Linked DNA regions of Homo sapiens: region 2 is linked to region 1. The links are contacts of gene promoters, found by promoter capture Hi-C in human tissues and cell types (Jung and others, 2019). All regions are on one chromosome and are shown on one strand. Each heading gives the region's core, a stretch centred on a gene start or on the middle of the fragment in contact. The rest is flanking DNA. Distances are from core to core; before and after follow the strand shown.

Region 1 (6,778 bases), core at 2,772-5,271:
GCAGCCCTTTGGACGTGGATTCTCCCCAGGCCCCCCGTCATTGCACTGGGCTCCCAGCCCCCTCCCTGAGTTCACCTCCATGGTCCTGCCCCACTCTCTTCTCTTGGTTCTTTGAGGCATCAGGTGTTTGCCACCACTGGACTTCTGTCATCGCTGCCTCCAACTCTTCCCCCATCTTTCCGGAGCTCCCCCACCCCCATCCCCTTCGAATCTCAGCTTGGCTGTTTCCTCCTTGGAGAGATCACTCCCAGGACCCCCTCTGCAGGGGTGCCACATCACCTGTTCTGAATTCTTAAGAGCACCCCTGCTCTCAGAACTCCTTATTTATTTGACTTGTTTGTATCCCTGAACTAGAATGTAAGCTCCATGAGGGCAAGGCCTTCCTCTGTCTCGTTTCCCTGCTGTATCCCCAGTGCCTGGAATAGTGCTTGGTGTGTAGCAGGCACTCAATAAACTGTGGAAAGGATGAAGATGCCCCCAGTTGGGGTTGGGGAGGGCGACCAGCTGGCCTGTGCCGTAGCCGGTCACAGCACATCATGCTCTGTTGCAGGTCACTGCAAGGGGATGCTGCACCCCCTCAAGGTGAGGCCTCTCCCTCTGGGGCCCCTCCTTTCTGCCTGGTTGGGGGCAGGAGGCTCAGTGGGGTGGGGATAGGGCCCAGACACAGCCTTACACAAACACAGCCTTTGAGCTTCACGCACCAACGGAGCCCTGGGCACACATGCCTGGCCGGCACAGTCCTGTCCACTGAGGCACCAACCCAAGCCCAGGCCTCCGACTGCAGAGTAACAGGCAGGTATTCCGTGCAGGTGAAGAGCTGATTGAGGCTGCCAAGAGGAACGACTTCTGTAAGGTACTAGCTCCAGGCTCCAGTTCCTTCCCCCAGCAGCTCCCTCGGGCCCTGGGGAGCGAGGCCTCTGGGTTGGGCCAAGAGCTGACCTGCTCAGGTGCTGTCATCTGTCATCGTCTGGCCCTCTGTGGGATCTCCAGTGATCGTCCCATTCCACTTCACTGTATCTCTGTCTAGGCCACAATAGATGGCTCCTAGTAGGGGCTTCCTAGCTCAGTCCACCTGTCCCTGGTGCTTAGAAAGGAGCAGGTCAGAGGAAGCACTGCTCCAGGGCTTGGTCACCAGTGCTGCCAGAGAGCCCACAGGCTGTGGGGTGAGAGGCCCCTCCTCCGGTGTGCTCCAGAGAGACCCACAGAGGCAACTCAGGAGTAAGATGTGTGAGCGCACTCGTTTCAGGCCTGTGCTGGTGTACCCGGCTGTGGGCCAGCGTGTGAGCTCAGGGAAGGAGGGGTGGCCCCAGGAGGTCCAGCCCTGCCATGCCTCCTGCCCTCAGCTCCAGGAGCTGCACCGAGCTGGGGGCGACCTCATGCACCGAGACGAGCAGAGTCGCACGCTCCTGCACCACGCAGTCAGCACTGGCAGCAAGGATGTGGTCCGCTACCTGCTGGACCACGGTGAGCCGGGCAGTGGAGCCCAGGGCCTGGGGCCAAGGTGGGAGGAGGAGGGGCTGCCAGGCCTCTCTGACCACCACCTCCCCTTCTCCAGCCCCCCCAGAGATCCTTGATGCGGTGGAGGAAAAGTAAGTATCTGGGCAGTGCAGAACCGTGGTCACCCCGGAAACCACCCTTTTCCCCACCCCTCCCATTTTGTCAGGTCAGAGCCCATAAACTTCCTGGTCACATCTGTCATCCCCTGGGCCACCCCTATTGCCCCAGAGCCCTGAACTTCCTGCCCTTTCTGATGGCCCTTGGGAGACAGATGGGTGGATCAGGGGACGGGATGGGGTACACAGCCAGCCCCTGCTCCCCCAGCGGGGAGACCTGTTTGCACCAAGCAGCGGCCCTGGGCCAGCGCACCATCTGCCACTACATCGTGGAGGCCGGGGCCTCGCTCATGAAGACAGACCAGCAGGTGAGCAGACGGCAGGCAGGGAGCCCACGAGGGCACCAACCAAACCTTTCCCAAGGTCCTAGGCGGGAGCTGGGGCTGGGGGCTGTCCCTGGGAAGACACAGTCCAGACCCTGGGAAACCTGAGCCAGCAGGGGAGGAGCTGGTGGGCAGAGAGGCCTCCCTCCCTGACCAGGCCACAGGGAGGTAGAGCCCCTGCCTCTCAGCCTGCTAGGGGTTAGGCCTGCCTCTGGCCCCTGCTGATCGCAGCTCCGCCCTCCTCCAGGGCGACACTCCCCGGCAGCGGGCTGAGAAGGCTCAGGACACCGAGCTGGCCGCCTACCTGGAGAACCGGCAGCACTACCAGATGATCCAGCGGGAGGACCAGGAGACGGCTGTGTAGCGGGCCGCCCACGGGCAGCAGGAGGGACAATGCGGCCAGGGGACGAGCGCCTTCCTTGCCCACCTCACTGCCACATTCCAGTGGGACGGCCACGGGGGGACCTAGGCCCCAGGGAAAGAGCCCCATGCCGCCCCCTAAGGAGCCGCCCAGACCTAGGGCTGGACTCAGGAGCTGGGGGGGCCTCACCTGTTCCCCTGAGGACCCCGCCGGACCCGGAGGCTCACAGGGAACAAGACACGGCTGGGTTGGATATGCCTTTGCCGGGGTTCTGGGGCAGGGCGCTCCCTGGCCGCAGCAGATGCCCTCCCAGGAGTGGAGGGGCTGGAGAGGGGGAGGCCTTCGGGAAGAGGCTTCCTGGGCCCCCTGGTCTTCGGCCGGGTCCCCAGCCCCCGCTCCTGCCCCACCCCACCTCCTCCGGGCTTCCTCCCGGAAACTCAGCGCCTGCTGCACTTGCCTGCCCTGCCTTGCTTGGCACCCGCTCCGGCGACCCTCCCCGCTCCCCTGTCATTTCATCGCGGACTGTGCGGCCTGGGGGTGGGGGGCGGGACTCTCACGGTGACATGTTTACAGCTGGGTGTGACTCAGTAAAGTGGATTTTTTTTTCTTTTCTGCTTTTCTTCTTTTGCGGGGGAGGTCTAACAAGCAGCGGGGGCTGCGGGGTTGTCCTCGGGGTGGGGGACTGGACGCTGTCGACAGCACCTTCCTGGGGCCCCGGCTCCCGTTTGGTGGTTGGTCCCAGGGCCTGCCCGGTTCCTGACCTCTGCCCGGCGGCCGCGCTCGTCGGGGCCGGGGGCGGGGCCGATCCCTCCGGCTTCCCGCTTCCCGCGGAGAACAACAATGAAAGTGAAAGAGGGGTGGGGCGGGGGCGAGCCCGGGTTCTGTGGCCCATTTGCCCTGTGGCCTTGAGCAAGCCCCTCCCCCAGGCCTCGGGGGCTCTCCCGGTTTGGGGGAACCGGGCGAGGCAATGCCACAGGCCCAGGGTTAGAGGGGGTGGGCACTTGCAGCTGCCGATGTGGCTGGATCTGGAACTTCTCAGACGGCTCCTGTCAGCGCCAAGTTTCACCAAATCCAGGCCTGCGGGCTCCTCCCCCAGGACCCCCACTCGCAGTCCCTCAAGCCTGTGCTCCCGGAAAGGCACTGGGCGACCGCACCCGTGGCTTTCTCTGGGCGACCGGGTCCCAGACTCCCCCCAGCACAGCAGAGCGCTTCCCTGCCCACCCGCGGAAACCGCCCCAGGTGGGCCGCGCCCCCTCCCCAGCAGCCAGCAGGGCGCCAGGGCTGAGCCGGCCGTGGAGGGGAGCGGGTCCCGCGGGTTATACAGGCGCCGGGGCTCCGCGGCAGGCAAGAGAAGCTGAGGCCTGAGAACGGCCCGGGCCTTGGCGTACGGCAGGGGACGACCTGGGATGGGGGCAGCGGGCGGCGGCGCAGGGAGTGGGCCGGGGGCCGGTGTGCGCGGGCGGGACGGGGCCCGGGGTCGGGAGACCACCGCTCGGAAGATGGGGCCGGGAGAGGCCGCCGTCGCAGCGCAGAGGGCACCGGCGGGGAGACGCGAGGACGCGGGGCCGGGAACACGGACGCCGGAGTAGAAGCGCGGGGGGCGCGGGCTGGAGCGGGGGCGGGGACGCCGGGGTCGGGGGCGGTGCGGGTTTGAGGGGAGGGGGCGGGGCGGGTCCTTCCCTGGGGGGGTGGGGAGAGGGGGCGGGGGCCCATGTGACCGGCTCAGACCGGTTCTGGAGACAAAAGGGGCCGCGGCGGCCGGAGCGGGACGGGCCCGGCGCGGGAGGGAGCGAAGCAGCGCGGGCAGCGAGCGAGTGAGCGCGCGGCGGCCCCTGGTCCGCCCGGCCGCGGCCGATCTAGGGGCTGGGGGCTGGAGGCGGGGGTGGGGGTCTGAGCTGCGTCCTGGGCTCGAGGCGTCCCCCGGGGAGTCGCCTCTTAGCGGTGCGTCCGGGCTAGCGGCGAGGGGCCGCCCCAAGTCTTCCCACCGCCGCCACCTTAGCAGCCCGACTTGGGGCCTGGAAAGTGGAGCACGCGGAGGTGGGAGGGCCCTGCACGCGGCCCCCGGTGGGGAAGGGGACGGGCCAGGGATTCAGACTCGGGCTCTCCCCTCAGGATGCAGCACCGAGGCTTCCTCCTCCTCACCCTCCTCGCCCTGCTGGCGCTCACCTCCGCGGTCGCCAAAAAGAAAGGTGATGGGGGATGATCGAAGGAGGGCTGGGGACGGGCAGGCGAGGCCCCTCCACTTCTGGGCTGGGCCGCCTGGGTTCCTAGCCTGGAACCCCAGGAAGGCGGCTCCCGAGGGAGTCTCCCCGTGCCCCAGTCCTGAACTCTGTTCCTCGCGCGTTGTAGATAAGGTGAAGAAGGGCGGCCCGGGGAGCGAGTGCGCTGAGTGGGCCTGGGGGCCCTGCACCCCCAGCAGCAAGGATTGCGGCGTGGGTTTCCGCGAGGGCACCTGCGGGGCCCAGACCCAGCGCATCCGGTGCAGGGTGCCCTGCAACTGGAAGAAGGAGTTTGGAGGTGAGGCGGGGCGCAGTCAGAGGGCAGGAGACGGGGGGCACAGCCTCGCCGAAGCCTGGGCGGACCCTTGGCGGAGGGCGGGGCCGCGGGCCGCGCAGCGCTGACCTGGGCCGCTCTCTCGCCAGCCGACTGCAAGTACAAGTTTGAGAACTGGGGTGCGTGTGATGGGGGCACAGGCACCAAAGTCCGCCAAGGCACCCTGAAGAAGGCGCGCTACAATGCTCAGTGCCAGGAGACCATCCGCGTCACCAAGCCCTGCACCCCCAAGACCAAAGCAAAGGCCAAAGGTCAGCGAAAGGAGAAGGGGGTGGGGCTGTCGCGGGGGGCTGCCCCCCCCCCCCCCCGCCTGTGAGGGGACAATTCCAAGTTAAACCTTAAGTTTTGAGTCCTGGCCAGTGGCTTCCTGACATCGCCTCACTTGGCTTCCCTGCCTGGAAAAGTCTGAAGATGGGCACTACAAGAGAGGCCGCAGGTGATGCTGGGGACATAAATCCTCCCTGGCCCAAATAGGGACCAACTCAAACTACTCCATTGGAGCATCTGGCTTAGGACCCAGGGAGAGTGTCCTGGAACGGCTTGCCTTTGTCAGCTCTCCAGCCACGGGCAGCATTTGGTCAGCTCTGCCCTTTCTAGTGTTGGGAGGAGGTCAAGGCCCACCCTGGGCCTCTCAGCTCACTCGTGACTCAGCCCAGCGAGGCCAGCAGGGCAGGGGTGAATCTGCCCGCTTCTCAGGTGAGGAGGCTGAGGATGCCCAGGGCTGCTGTGACCAGGACTAGGACTGGAAACTTGAAGGTTTTCTGATCCCAAGTGGAAATAGGAAGCTGGGGATGTCCCATGTCCACATCACAATGGCTGCCCCATCCCCTGCTTCCGAGTCAGCTGATTGGAAACCACTAGGGGGCAGAATCTTCTCCTTCCCTGATGCCCGGGTGTTTGTGGAGCCGGCGGTCTGCAATGGGTCAGCCTAACTGCTGATATGGTATTAATATTTCTTTCTTGTTTTACAGCCAAGAAAGGGAAGGGAAAGGACTAGACGCCAAGCCTGGATGCCAAGGAGCCCCTGGTGTCACATGGGGCCTGGCCCACGCCCTCCCTCTCCCAGGCCCGAGATGTGACCCACCAGTGCCTTCTGTCTGCTCGTTAGCTTTAATCAATCATGCCCTGCCTTGTCCCTCTCACTCCCCAGCCCCACCCCTAAGTGCCCAAAGTGGGGAGGGACAAGGGATTCTGGGAAGCTTGAGCCTCCCCCAAAGCAATGTGAGTCCCAGAGCCCGCTTTTGTTCTTCCCCACAATTCCATTACTAAGAAACACATCAAATAAACTGACTTTTTCCCCCCAATAAAAGCTCTTCTTTTTTAATATATAAAAGCCCCTTCCCAAGGAGTTTGCTGTGGAAATGTGTTTGGGAGTGGGAAGGTGGGGAGAAAGACCAGGCTGTAGGGACTGGTGGGTTTCAGGGGGCTTGGTGGTGGGTGCTCTCCAGAGCTCATGGAAAAAGCAGAACAATTACAAACATTTCTTCCAGGGCCCCTGAAAGGGTGCTCCCCATCAAGTCACCTAAGCCTTTCGGTCCTCATCTCCCTCAGGGACCAGGGCTGGGGAAGGGAACCTGGCTGACTCACTGGAACCACCACACCCATCTCAGCCTCACCCAGTCAAAGGTCTTTTGATACAACCCACAGCCAATCAGGAAGGTTCTACCCATGGGGGAGAGCAGATGCGAGGGCTGCGTGCCTACCTCACTGCCCACCTCCCCCCTTCCCACTGTCATGGAAACCCGAGTGAGCCACCAGGTTGACCCCTTTCCTCTTGCCTGTGTGACCCAGGCCTCCACCCTGCAGAAGCCAGGGGGTGAGAGGTTTGAAGAGGGCAGATGGGAATGCCATCCACCACAGCCTCACCCTGACTCGATGTGTGACCTGGGACAGCCTTCTAAGGCCGGGGCTGCAGGGGGCTGTCTTCT
Region 2 (7,737 bases), core at 2,064-4,563, 84 kb after region 1:
CCTGAAAAGAAGAAAGACTTAATTTTAAGTCTCATACTGCCCCCCACTATCTAGACTCCTTCCTCCCTGCCCTAGTCAATGTTTACTAAAATCCCCTTCATCCTTCATAATTTTAATGTCAGGTTAGATAAATGTCTGAGAAAGGCCTGTGGCAAATTTCTAGCTTTTACAAGAGATATCTGACGAGATTAAAATGTATTTTGGTGTTTCCTTTTCTGTCAGAGCTGCATGCATCTCCCAGAAAACCCTGGACCTGCTATCACAAGTTAGGGATGCGCGTAAACAAGTGAGCACGGCGGTGTAAGCACACACCTTTTTAAGACCAACTCCGTTGCTGGTCATCATAAAGAATACACAAAAACCTGCAAGCTTCTCTATATGCCCCTTGGGGTATGGGAAACCAGGAAATAATCTTGCAGTCAACACTAAGCGCCGGGCCCTTGTCCCATACAAAACCATCTATCTTCCTCTTTACTCTCCTCACGTCTGTCTTCAATGCCAGATTGTTTTTAAAGCAGATTTTTGATTGTCACTTACCTGCTCTAAAGCTTTAGTGGCTCCTCACTGACTACACTGAGGTAGACTCGTTGGTCTTCAAGGCCCTCCTCGATCTGGACCTGTCTGTCATCTACCCCTCTGGGCTTGTCTCCCACTGCTCTCCAGACCCATCACTTTGTACATGTGTTTTAAACACATCCCTACATTTAAACCTTCTGCTCATACTGCCCCCACTATCTAGACTCCCTCCTCCCTGCCCTAGTCAATGTTTACTAAAATCCCCTTCATCCCTCATCTCCCCATTCAAGTACTTTCTCAAATAATTCACCCCCCTCCTTTTTTTTTTGAGACAGGGTATCACTCTGTCACCCAGGCTAAAGTGCAGTGGTGCGATCCCAGCTCACTGCAACCTCCGCCTCCCAGGTTCAAGCGATTCTCCTTGCTTCAAAACTCCCAAGTAGCTGGGATTACAGGCGTGCACCACCATGTCTGGCTAATTTTTGTATTTTTAGTAGAGACGGGGTTTCACCATATTGGCCAGGCTGGTCTCAAACTCCTGGCCTCAAGTGATCCACCTACCTTGGCCTTTCAAAGTGCTGGGATTACAGGCGTGAGCCACCACGTCTGGCCAATAATCCCCTTTTCTAAGAAGTCTTTTCTAATCTCACTAACCTGATTATGATCTCCTCTTCAGAAGCCCCATGGCACTTTGTTTCTCTCTTATTCTGTTACAGTTCTTCTGCTCAATTTCCTGCCCTCTGCAGGATGCTCTACCATTATTCACTCCACTTGAGGATGAGTTTAAAATTCAGCCCACCAGGGGCCAACTCAAAATCTACAAGCCAAGTATACCTGTTCTATTCCCACTCAACACTTTCCCTGAATCTGAATCCCCATAGTACATTATTAGTAGGTGCCTCTGATAGCAAGAACACACACAGTTTCTTCATCTTTATATAAAATATATAGATGCTCTGCTGTAGAAGGTATGCAGTAACTCCATATTAATTAAAGAAACAAAGGGCCACTTGAATATATCTGACTTGGACTATTCGACTGTCAGCTCCTTAAGAGTAGGGACTACCTTAAATCCCTCTGAGAGACTTAAGTACCTCCGAATCCTTGCACTTAACTAAAGAGTACCTTGCACAAAAGCACAGAATTACAACTCAATTTGTTAACTAGGACTCAAAGTATCTTTGGCTTTGAGAAGATACCCACTCAATCGTCAGAATGGCACTTCCAAAATTCCTAAAAATCTTTTGTCTGATTTCTGCAACTCCAGGAAAGCACCCAACTTCTGGAAGTCTACATAGCACAGTACTCGGGGCCCTAAGAAATTGATGGTTTCATGCAGGGGAAATATAACTGCAGCCAAAACAAAGCCGGGGTGGGCGGGCTTCCCTCTGCAAGTTGGTAAAACGTAACAAAAAAATTCCTGCTCTGGCCTGTGGAAGATCCAAGTGGGTGCAGGCCTTCTCCTTTGTTAGCCTCTGCAAGGCTCTTGCCTTGGGGCCAACAGGATTAGCACAGCCATTTCATGCTCTGAAAAGTCAGAAAAGGAGAGATAGGGAGCTTTTCACTCTAGGAAATGCCTAGTAGTCAGAGACAGTTTTTGTTTCTGTTCAAAAGATAAGTGGGGATGCTGAGGTTAAAAAGCAAAAATTCCAACAATGGTTAATGAAAGGTTTGGAAACAATATACAGAATTAGGCAATGGGATAAACTCCAAGAAGAGAAGAGCAGGTGCCAGAGAATCAGCACTAGATGTTTTCATGCATTCAAAAATTTCCATGTATTTAAAATGTCATCAGGACGCCCTGTGAGCAGACTTGATGCAGCAATTAGAGAATGCAGGCTTATCCCTCTTGGCACAAAATACCCACAAATAAGCTCCTAGTATAAAAGTCAAAACAAAGTAGAAAGAAAAGCTTTACCAAAAAAGTTGAGCAGTTGCTGCATTTCCCTGGATTTAATAATTCACTATGCACCTTCCTGAGATGGTCTAAACTAAACTCAAATACTGTATTCAAAGGCACAGAGCTCCCAGGACCCAATTTGGGTTTTGTACCTTGGGTCTACAGATAGGCTTCAGGTGGTTCAAGAAACCCCTGAAATAGCAAATAAAATTGTGCATGTGTTCATGAGTGTGTTATTACATTAATATTTTTAATTTTCTATATTTTATGATGCTTTGACATCTTAGGGGCTTTGCAGATAAGCAACTGTACCTCCCAGGGTTAGTTACTTCCTGGAGATTGCAAACAACTTGCCTTTGATATGCAAACCAACCAATCCAGAGTCCATACCCTAACTACCTCCTTTATTAAACACCGAGACAAGGCCGGGCGCAGTGGCTCACACCTGTAATCCAAGCACTTTGCGAGGCCAAGGCAGTCGGATCACGAGGTCAAGAGTTTGAGACCATCCTGGCCAACAGGGTGAAACCCCGTCTCTACTAAAAATACAAAAATTAGCCAGGCATGGTGGTGGGTGCCTGTAATCCCAGCTACTCAGGAGTCTGAGGCAGGAGAATCACTTGAACCGGGAGGTGGAGGTTGCAGTGAGCTGCGATCGCGCCACCGCACTCCAGCCTGGCGACACAGTGAGATTCCCTCTCAAAAAATAAAAATAAAAAATAAAAAAAAATAAACACCAAGACAATATTCCCCAGCCCTAAATCACCCCAGGGCCAAGTATGGACAACTAGTGCCCACACCTACAGCCCAGACCCTGCCAAAATTATTCAAACCGATCCAATCCTAAACTTACTTAGCCTCACCCATCCCTTCCCCTAGAAACCCCAATAAAGGCTCATGCTCCTCCCTGCCCTCCTTCTGCCTCCTGACTCCCTGGTACTTCCCCATGTGGCCTTGTGTTGTGTGGCATGGCACACGCTCATCTCTTGGGAACTGTAAGGAACAAACTATCCTTTCAACGGCAATCATCTCTTCATCTTTTGTCCTTACCATATTGGAATAAAAACAAAATCCTGGGCACACGTTACTACAGTTATGTGTAGGTGTTTTTTTCTTAGTGTAGGGTCTAAGTTTTTACCATATTTTCTCAGAGAGTTCACTGTTCTCTAAAGATTAAAAACTAGTGACCTAAATATTTCAGGTAACTTTGGGGCTCAACAGGCTAAGATATATCACAGAGGAAGCCTCTCTAGGGAACATGCAAAGCCAGGTGGTTAGAGAGTGCAAAGAGAAAAAGTGGAGACTGCATAGGGCTTTATTTACTTTTGGTTTTTCCTGGCTCTTTGCAGTGTAAGGGATCATCAGTGTAAGGAGGTAGAAAGGAAAAAGGTTCATCCATCCCCAAAATAGTGATGCTCATGATAAATTAGCACTTCTCATAAGTAACACAGAACTTCTGAAATGTATACATACAATCTTGCTTAAACATTCACAGAAATTGTGCAACTGTCCATGCTATATTCTATAAAAAACAACTAGCATGCTGTGCCAACCAGCGACAGTATCAGCAGCAAACAGATAAAGCCTTGGCCTTCAACCTCACTAAGGCTGACAAAGATACACAGATTTGGGATCTAGACTAAAGTACAGAGTCTTGAGACATGCCTAGAATAAAGAATAGTGATCTCAAAACAGAAAGCTTTTTGATGGCTGAGTGAGAACTGAATATTAAACAGGTATTTATCAAATAGCACTGTGGAAGATGTACATAAAATGGTAGTAAGATGTACTTCTTGCTTGTTTGGAGCCTACAATCCAGTTGGGAAGATAGGACTTCCATCAAAAGCATTATAAATGAGGCCAGGCGTGCTGGCACACGCCTGTAGTCCCAGCTACTTGGGAGGCTAAGGCAGGAGAATCACTTGAACCCAGGAGGCGGAGGTTGCAGTGAGCCGAGATCGTGCCACTGCACTCTAGCCTGGGCAACAGAGCAAGACTCTGTCTAAAAAAAAAAAAAAGGGCAATGTGAGTATCTAACGAGGAGACCAACCACAGCCACAGCCATTTAGGAAGGGGCCACTGGGCACCAATGGCTACCTGAGAAGGAGCAGGAAATTTACAGAGTACAGAGGAACTAGGGCTTGAAGCATGTGGAAAGGAGAATGGTTCAGGATAGAAAGAGGTTACTGCTCAAAGTGGATTCAGGGGTCAAGAGCTAATACCAGTTCAGTGGGAAGCAAAGGCTTATATAAATAATAATAGAGATCAGGTTGAAAAAAGATAAGGAACTTGTCATCTGTGTGGCAGGAAAGAGAAATCTTTTGACATTTTTGAGTAAGTAAATTACACAGTGGATAGCTTTCAAATTTTTATTTTTATCAAAGTACTACCTACCCATAATTTTTAAAGTTAGAAAGTATTCAAGGCTAATAAAGTTAAATGGCAGCCTCCAGCCCCATGACCCACCCTCCTTGATTTCTGTTCTCCAGAGGCAATCACTTTTCAAACCTTTTTTTTCTTCTGATAATTAACCATCATATTTCTAAAATTACTAATGTTTCTTTTTTTCTTTTCTTTTTTCTTTTTTTTTTTTTTGAGATGGAGTCTCGCTCTGTTGCCAGGCTGGAGTGCAGTGGCACGATCTTGGCTCACTGAAACCTTCACCTCCCGGATCCAGGCGATTCTCCTGTCTCAGCCTCCTGAATAGCTGGGACTAAGGTGCACGCCACCACACCTGGCTAATTTTTGTATTTTTAGTAGAGAAGGGGTTTCACCGTGTTGGCAAGGCTGGTCTCAAACTCCTGATCTCAAGGGATCTGCCCACCTCAGCCTCCCAAAGTACTGGGATTACAGGTGTGAGCCACTGCACTAGGCCTATAACTGATTTTTCAATTTCCGCTATTATCTACTGATTTCCTATGATGGGAGATGATTTGTTCCTACCTTCTTTTCTCCCCCATCCTTCCAAAATAGTTACATCCCATGTTTGGGTTAATGTAAATTATTTACAGTATTATAACTATATAAATATTCACAAATACAGGAATAGTATAATAAATTCGTATTTCCTTTCACATGCAATTTTGTTTCTTCTAGAAGAGAAATGTTCTTGTCATCACTTACTAATCATCACTCGCTTTTTCCCATTCTCTTTTTACAATGAATATATACTTTTGTCTAATTCCTTTACTGTTACTCTATGTTACTCTTTTTTTTTTTTTTTTTGGGATGGAGTCTCACTCTGTTGCCCAGGCTAGAGTGCACTGGCACGATCTCAGCTCACTGCAACCTCTGCCTCCTGGGTTCAAGCGATTCTCCTGCCTCAGCATCCCGAGTAGCACACCACCATACCCGGCTAATTTTTGTAGTTTTAGTAGAGATGGGATTTCACCATGTCAGCTAGGCTGGTCTCAAACTCCTGACCTCACGTGATCCTCCCAAAGTGCTGGGATTATAGGTGTGAGCCACTGCACCTGGCCCTTTTACTGTTAATTTAGAAGAGATCTGGGAGAGAGTGGAGATAAACACACATGTTCATTCTTTCATGTTTACCAGAAGTCTAGGGCCACATACTGGCAAGTATTTCTGGCATGGGAAGATTATAAGCAGGGAACAACCAGGCAGGAAACTGCTACGAAAGCATAATGGCCTCAATCAGGGCTAGAATAGTGAGAAGAGATCCTGGAATCTTCAGTTTACTTAGGAAAACATGGTTGCTATTCTTCCAGGGCATAGGATGGTGACAGGTATATTGGAAACCCTCACACATTTGTTGAATGAAGAAATGGCCAAACAACAGCTGCCTTCTTTGAGTGGTTCTGTGAATTATAAGAACAATAGATGATAAAGAATATGCAGCAAGCAGTGCGTGGTGGGACCAATCACTAATACAAAAAAAAGTGGGGAGGGGTGGCGGGCAGCATGGTGGCTCACACTGGTAGTCCCAAGCACCTTAGGAGGTGCCAAGGCAGGAGGATGGCTTGAGTCCAGGAGTTTGAGAACAGCCTGGGCAATATAGTGAGACCTCATCTCTTGAAAAAAAAGAAAAAAGAAGAGGAAGGAGGCCCAAGCATTACCCTTGGCTCAATGTAACTCTGAACTCCTGGGCTTATGGAATCCTCCCACCTCAGCCTCCTAGTAGCACAAGCATCACTCTTAAAGAAAAGGAAGGCCAGGGCCAGGCGCAGTGACTCACGCCTGTAATCCCAGCACTTTGGGAGGCTGAGGTGGGTGCATCACAAGGTCAGGAGATCGAGACCATCCTAGCTAACACCGTGAAACCCCGTCTCTACTAAAAATACAAAAAAATACAAAAAAAAAAATAGCCGGGTGTGGTGGCGGGCGCCTGTAGTCCCCGTTACTCAGGAGGCTGAGGCAGGAGAATGGCGTGAACCTGGGAGGCGGAGCTTGCAGTGAGCCGAGATCACACCACTGCACTCCAGCCTGGGCGGCAACAGAGTGAGGCTCCGTCTCAAAAAAAAAAAAAAGAAAAAAGAAAAAGAGAGAAAGAAAAGGAGGAAGGCCAGACACAGTGGCTCAAGCCTGTAATCCCAGCACTTCAGGAGGCCAAGGCAGGTGGATCACCTGAAGTCAGGAATTCGAGACCAGCCTGACCAACATGGCAAAACCCCGTCTCTACTAAACATACAAAATTAGCTGGGTGTGGTGGTCTATGCCTGTAATCCCAGCTCCTCAAGAGGCTGAGGCAGGAGAATCACTTGAACCTGGGAGGCGGAGGTTGCAGTGAGCCGAAATCACGCCACTGAACTCCAGCCTGCGTGACAACAGGGAAACTCCACCTCAAAAAAAGAAAAAGAAGATGTAATAAAATATTAGATTTAGTTAGTTTAGGCTTTACAGTTATATCTATATCTAACGTATTTTCATTGAATATGGTAAAATGTGTTTTATGCTGAACTCTCCAGCTCCTAATCTTCCCTTCCTCCAAAATGAAATCATTGTTTTTATAACAGAATTTTTTATTTCTCTGAATGTTTTAGAAACAGAGTACCTTGGGAATGATAGTAAGGAGTTAAAAAAAAGAAATAGAATCCTTAGATTACAACAGACTGTAAAAGAAACATTGGGGACAGCAACTATGAAAAAAAGGTATGGTTCCTAACTTGAGAGAACTGACAATCTTGAAGGAGACAGAAAATATGTACACCTATTATATGTGTAATATATATGAAAACTGTATGAAAATATGTACATTATATGAAAATATGTACAATGAAAATACTATAAACTAGGCACAATTTAAATATGTTATCTTCAGAGTAAAATGAATCTAAGAATAAGACTTAGCAACATATATTTCT

What was found. The method cuts DNA at HindIII sites, captures the fragments that hold promoters and counts their contacts. A contact is called where the count stands out against the background at its distance.
Region 2: a contact is called between a fragment that was not itself captured here and the fragment with the promoter of MDK in region 1, in 2 of the 25 tissues and cell types used here (IMR-90 fibroblasts and lymphoblastoid cells).

The regions. Positions count from the first base shown.
Region 1 is chr11:46,377,648-46,384,425 of GRCh38, forward strand. It overlaps MDK (midkine), which reads left to right and starts at 4,022. Exons shown (of 5, transcript NM_002391.6): 1 at 4,022-4,111; 2 at 4,410-4,486; 3 at 4,647-4,814; 4 at 4,940-5,101; 5 at 5,822-6,154. The coding sequence starts at 4,411. The coding sequence ends at 5,847. It overlaps DGKZ (diacylglycerol kinase zeta), which reads left to right. Exons shown (of 31, transcript NM_001199267.2): 26 at 551-582; 27 at 810-853; 28 at 1,344-1,464; 29 at 1,556-1,589; 30 at 1,822-1,921; 31 at 2,184-2,904. The coding sequence ends at 2,300. CHRM4 (cholinergic receptor muscarinic 4) reads right to left here. Exons shown (of 2, transcript NM_000741.5): 2 at 6,142-6,778. RefSeq lists an enhancer at 2,753-3,387 and silencers at 2,887-3,096, 3,527-3,726, 4,157-4,266, 4,687-4,736, 4,712-5,006. The HindIII fragment of the contact is 7,629 bases long and covers 3,020-6,778 here.
Region 2 is chr11:46,461,926-46,469,662 of GRCh38, forward strand. The region is part of intron 11 of AMBRA1 (autophagy and beclin 1 regulator 1); the gene reads right to left. Among named protein-coding and RNA genes, the nearest start is that of MIR3160-1, 14 kb to the left of the region's middle. The HindIII fragment of the contact is 5,711 bases long and covers 459-6,169 here.